Regions from separate parts of the Homo sapiens genome. Here region 1 is linked to region 2. The links are contacts of gene promoters, found by promoter capture Hi-C in human tissues and cell types (Jung and others, 2019). All regions are on one chromosome and are shown on one strand. The core of a region is centred on a gene start or on the middle of the fragment in contact, and the rest is flanking DNA. Distances in the headings are between cores, read along the strand shown.

Region 1 (3,045 bases), core at 519-3,018, 400 kb after region 2:
TATATTGTATAAAAATATGGTGAATAGAAGCTATAGATATTTATTATATGACTCTAGAGGAAGAGTTTTACTGACACCATTTATAAAAGGAAACACATCTAAAACATGTTCTTTGCTCTTAAGAAATTTAAAATACAGTTAATTGGGTTATAACTCCTCCCAGACCCTCAAGCTTATCCACTGTATCATTTAATGGGAAAGGAGAAATTCGATGTTTGCTTAACAGCAGTCATAAAATATCTATATGATATTCACATCTTAAAATCTGACACGTTTTTAAGTTTCTGAGTAGAGATTATATGGATTTCTTAATGGGAAAGGGAGGGTTGAGCTGATGCCTCACTTTCCCCTTTCTGTTGCTGACTCAAAGGGTACTGATTTCACTGCCTATGTCAGGCTTGATTCCTGGCTCTGAGCACAAGCTCTGTAAGTGCTTGGATTACATAGCAAGGCTGTGATGCAGTCAGGGGCCACTTTTGAGTGTGCAAACAGTCTCATCACTGTTTAAAACTTGAACAAATTCAATTAATGGGTGCCAATTCTGGGCCCTAGAGATACAGAAAAGAATAAGATAGTCTCCATTTTTCAAGGACTTAACAGTCTAGCCGGGGAGATAGGTTATATAAATCTTATCTGATGTGGACAAGTTATTCCAGTCTTATGAACAGATCTCCAGGGCTTCATAGAGGGAGTCTGTTTGTCTGGAAAAGTGGAGGAGTTTCTCCAGGTCTGAGTTTCCCAAAGGTTTGAAAGGAGATGCAGGCCAGGCGCAGTGGCTCACGCATGTAATCCCAACACTCTGGGAGGCCGAGGCGGGCAGATCACGAGGTCAGGAGACCGAGACCAGCCTGACCAAAATGGTGAAACCCTGTCTCTACTAAAATACAAAAAAATTAGCCGGGCGTGGTGGCATGCACCTGTAGTCCCAGCTACTCAGGAGGCTGAGGCAGAAGAATCACTTGAACCCAGGAGGTGGAGGTTGCAGTGAGCTGAGATCACGCTACTGCACTCCAGCCTGGGCAACAGAGCAAGACTCCATCTCAAAAAAAAAAAAAAAAAGGAGATGTAAGTTTCTCCCAGGCAGAGGATTGGGAGATTTGGAGAGGACTTTCTTCTGGTGGTGAGATATGTTTGAGCAAAGACAGAAGATTGGCGAAATCGGGGGTTTTCAGGAATCCATGGTTTACAACCTGGGGAGAGCATATGACAGTGATCACAGCTCCACATTATTTTTTCTTTATACTGCAAACGCGAATTATTGTGTGCCAAATAGATGCTGTCATGATTACTCTTTAGTCGCTATTAATAGTTATTTGGATTTCAGGAATGTTTTGGTTGGCCTTAGCTCAGTTAAATGCTTTTCATTTGGTTAAAATTATTATAAGGGCATGGTGCATATATAACAAATTACCATGTAGCATTGGGAATTATTCACAACATAGTTCATGAACTTAGTATTTATTCTATGGTCGGGAAATCATTTTTCCCATTTTCTTTAAGAATATTGCTTTTCTTCTGTCTTGTTTAGTCTGTACCATAGTTTGATTCCAAAGCTTTTGCTGTGCTAGATACCAATTTTGAGTAAAACAGATGTTACGATTGCAAGGAATGACTTCAGGGAAGACCATTCACGGGGGAAAGGTGGTTCCCATATAAGAGGCAGACGGCAAAGGATCAGGTGAAAGAAATAATTCTCGCTGCTTTCTTACAGCTGTAAATACACATTCTTAGTCATCTCAGTAGGAAAAGAGAGGCGTTATTGAAGCTTATTCAAGTTGCAGAGCTCTACTTTTACTTGACTATAGCATTAAATAATAAATGGCTTCAAAACTTCATGCAGATGGGGCAAATAGAGGTGATTAGTTTTGTTCTTTGTCCTAGAAATTGTGATCAGCCTTAGCATTCTTCATAGTGTTTTAAACTCCTGGTTATTTTCTTAGCTGATGAGTGTCTACAATATATTTGGTACTCCTTAAAGCTACCTTAAGAATGTTAGTGAATCGGCCAGGTGCAGTGGCTCACACCTGTAATCCCAGCACTTTGGGAGGCCGAGGTAGGCAGATCACGAGATCGGGAGTTCGAGACCAGCCTGGCTAATGGTGAAACCCTGTCTCTACTAAAAATACAAAAATTAGCCGGGCGTGGTGGCGTGTGCCTGTAGTCCCAGCTACTCGGGAGGCTGAGGCAGAAGAATTGCTTGAACCCAGGAGGCAGAGGTTGCAGTGAGCCAAGATTGCACCACTGCAACTCCAGCCTGGGCGACAGAGCAAAACTCCGTCTCAAAAAAAAGAGTGTTAGTGAGTATTCTTCCATTCTTCTTACGGCAATGCTGTCACTAAAAAATGGCTTATGTACTTGTTTCATACAGTTTATTGAGGCAAGATTAGTGCTGTACCCTTGAATTTTCATTTCTTAATTTGGTCACTCAGTTGCCGAGACACTGAGTCAAAGTTTCATTATTTACACTCAGGGCTGACTGGGGGAGACATAGACAAATTATTTTATGTGCAGTTTCCCAGTTTTTAATTAATTTATACTCTGCCTCTTTCAAAACCAAGTTTGAGATACCTTAAAAAATAAATACGAGAAAAAGATAAGGGGGGAAATTAGGGGTAGTGGAAAAGCCAGATAGAAAAAGTAAGGATTCATGTTGTTTGGGTCATAAATTTGACTCCAGACTTAAGAAAGGCCCCGACAGAGAGAAAACATAATAAATAATGTGAGTTCTATTGTCTGTTCGTAAGATAAAAACACACATCACTTGGTGTATAAGAAGCCATGGTACTGAAGTTCAAGGAAAGACGTGTTTCCTCTGCCCCCGGAAAAGGGGCTTCCATAGGTGTCTTCTGCGGCAACTGAGCAGCTCTGTAACCTGGGCAGCTCAGTGTCCAGAGTTCTGAATGAACATGTGGCTCCCTGCTGGTCTGGCTCAATCCAAGGGTGAAAGGTAGGGCACTGTGAATCTACAGCGAGAGCAGAAGGAGAAAATTCATATGGTCTGAATCATTTGGCATTTATAGAATCTCTTAAATTGTCCAATGTGGC
Region 2 (3,155 bases), core at 411-2,910:
GCCTGTAGTCCCAGCTACTCGGGAGGCTGAGGCAGAAGAATGGCGTGAACGTGGGAAGTGGAGCTTGCAGTGAGCCGAGATCACGCCACTGCACTCCAGCCTGGGTGACAGAGCAAGACTCCGTCCCCCCCAAAAAAAAAAAGAAAAAAAAGATTTTTAGGGAACAAGACATACATTAATCCAGAGATACCAACTTTACCAAATGATGAAATGGAACATCCCCAATAATGGGACACACTGACCTCATGTGCTTCCTTCCTCCATTCCAAATCTCCCTCATCCTACAGTGAGAATCTGGGTTCTGGTACCACCAATCCTAGGATAACCCAAAGTTGCTTCGGAATGGCTCCGCCCTCCCCACTGCCAATAACAAAGTCACTAGTGAGGTTTGGGGTTCTGTCACAGGCCTCCCAGTTCTTAGAGTGTACTCCACTAAGGAGGTACCCCTGGACAACCCAGCTCTATAATTACTCAGATCGTTTTATTCTTTTTCTGCAAGTGAGGTTATGTCATCAACGTCATACAGAGATTAATTAGTTTCTGTTGATTTTCTTTATCTTTTTTCTAAGAGACAGGGTCTGGCTCTGTTATTGCAGCTTTAATCATAGCTCAAAGTGGCATGATCATAGTTCACTGTAGCCTCGACCTCCTGGGCTCAAGCAATCCTGGGACTACAGGCATGCCCCACTAGGCTGAGCTAATTTTTTTTTTTTTTTTTTTGGTAGAGATGGGGTCTCACTATGATGCCCAGGATGGTCTCTAGCTCCTGGCCTCAAGGGATCCTCCTATCTTGACCTCCCAAAGTGTTGGGATTACAGGCATGAGCCTCCTTGCCCCTCTTCTGTTGTTTTTTTCCTATCCTTGTTGACTTACTTTTATTTCTTAAATGTAAAATTGATTTAAGGTGCATCCAGAGATGTGCACAGATTCTTGTGATGGAGGGAACCGCACAGTCATGGTGAGGAGTCCATCATAATTTTCAAACGCCCCTTTAAGAAGTAGGCATTAACACCCTGCTCCATCCCTTTGGAGGCAGCCCTGGGCTGAGCACTGGACTCCTGGGTTCCACCAGCCTCAGTGTCTCCAGGAGACCAAGCGCGGCCGGGGGTGAGTCCCTGTCCCCGCGCCCCCCACCACGCTCCAATACTTACCCCCTGCCCCACCCCCCAGCCTCCCGGGCCTTGGCTTGTACCTGTGAACCGAAGGGGTCATACTAGGCGTCATACTAGGGTCTCTGGATAGCTCCCAGGCCTGGACTTCGTTTTCCAGGATATCACCTTTACTGGTCAACCCATTTTGTTTCGCGAGTGCCCAGTGAGTGTTTGGCACGTAATAGAGCCTCCATAAATAGTTGTAGAAATTAGCGTCATTTTACAGTATGGAAACTGAGGCTCCAAGTGGGAGTGGCTTGCCCTCAAGGTCCCATTGGTGAGAGACGCTGTGGAAGGGCTGCCCTGGCCTGGGCACACAGTAGGCGCTTTGATGCGGGCTGGAGAAGGTCCTGCCCGGTGGGATTGCGCCCTGGGGCACCGCGCACGGGTCGGGGAAGCCCGGGGCAGGGCCGTATGCAAATAGCGCGCGAGGAGGCCGCGGATTGGCCAGCCCAGGCGGGGGCGGGGCGCGCCGAGGGCCCAGAGCTGGCAGGTGCCCTGGCAGGGACAGGTCTGGTGCCCGCGCCTGCTCGCTGGACCGCCCGCCCCGCGCTCTGGCGGCTCCTCCCGGGCGATGCCTCCGCTCTGGGCCCTGCTGGCCCTCGGCTGCCTGCGGTTCGGCTCGGGTAGGCGGTGAAGGGCAGGAGGGGGCTGAGCCCAGAAAGAGCGGGCAGCTCTGCCCTGGGGCGCCCGCCGCCTGGACCCTGATTCCTGGCGCTGGGGACCCAGATATTACTGTTATGAATAATAGTGATAGCCAACGTTTACGGGCCTCCTCTGTTGGGAATCCGAGGGCTCACAGATGGCTGCAGCCCTGCGATGTGTGTTGCAAGAGACCAACATGCAGGGGGGCTGCGGTAGGACAGAGAAGGGACTAGCCCCAGCCCCATGGTGACGCCTGGACGGGGGCAGATAGAGAGATATTTCGGCCGAGGAAGCAGCATGGGCAAGTTCATGGAGGGGAGACAATATTGGGCTGTCCTGGGAACTGCCAGTCCATGGGACCAGCTGGAGCCTGGGGTGAGGGGAGCCTGTGGGGGAAGGGGTGAGGCTGGAGACCGAACAAAGCAAAGCCCAGAACTTCAGGACCTCACTGCCTTTCCAGAGAGGCTGGACTTCGTCAGGGGGCGCTGGGGGACCATGGGAGGGCCATAGCCAGAGAATGAGGCAGTCAGACTTGCATGTGGGGGGAGGGCCCAGGTGAGGAAGGTGGGACGGAGGAGGGCTGGGCCGATGGCATGGAGAGATGCTTAGGAGGGGCAGTGGAGTTCTTGGCAACTGAGTGTCTGCAGCAGGGAGAGAAGGCAGCAGTTTGGCCCGACCGCTCCATTTCTGAGCAGGATGACTGGGCAGGGGGCAGTGTCTGAGACAGCTTATGCGGTGGCCCAGGGGGAGGGTGAAGCCCAGGGCCTGGCACACAACACGTGCTCAGTAACTGCAAGCAGAGTGGGTGTGGACAGTTCTGCCGGAGGTCAGTTCCCATCCTCACTGCCTCCTCCAGCTGTGAACCTGCAGCCCCAACTGGCCAGTGTGACTTTCGCCACCAACAACCCCACACTTACCACTGTGGCCTTGGAAAAGCCTCTCTGCATGTTTGACAGCAAAGAGGCCCTCACTGGCACCCACGAGGTCTACCTGTATGTCCTGGTCGACTCAGGTAAGGGTCCTGCTTCCCTCTGGCTACTCCAAAAGGGGCTCTGACCTGTCTGCAGGGAGGAGGGAAGGAGGCAGATAGAGGAACCCTCCATGCCTGTAGTCGTCTCATTAAACAGGTACTGCAGCCACAGACCTGTCCTTGCCTTGCAGGGACATCCAGTTAGTGAGGGAAGTAATAACACCACCAGTCACTGAACACCTACACCATACCAGGCACTTTGCACACCATAGAGCTAGTATCTACAACCAGCTTGTAAGGTAGCTATTACCAATCCCCATTACAGAGCAGGGAAGCAAGGCTCAGAGAGGTGGAATAACCCCCCCTGGACCTCCCAGGGCTGGAGAGTG

The links. Contacts are between HindIII fragments. The study calls those that stand out against the background at their distance.
Region 1: a contact is called between a fragment that was not itself captured here and the fragment with the promoter of UPK3A in region 2, in 1 of the 25 tissues and cell types used here (bladder).

Annotation. Positions count from the first base shown.
Region 1 is chr22:45,685,777-45,688,821 of GRCh38, forward strand. All of the region lies in intron 1 of ATXN10 (ataxin 10), which reads left to right. Among named protein-coding and RNA genes, the nearest start is that of ATXN10, 15 kb to the left of the region's middle. The HindIII fragment of the contact is 3,403 bases long and covers 68-3,045 here.
Region 2 is chr22:45,283,289-45,286,443 of GRCh38, forward strand. It overlaps UPK3A (uroplakin 3A), which reads left to right and starts at 1,661. Exons shown (of 6, transcript NM_006953.4): 1 at 1,661-1,777; 2 at 2,653-2,808. The coding sequence starts at 1,726. RefSeq lists a silencer at 1,482-1,791. The HindIII fragment of the contact is 20,192 bases long and covers 1-3,155 here.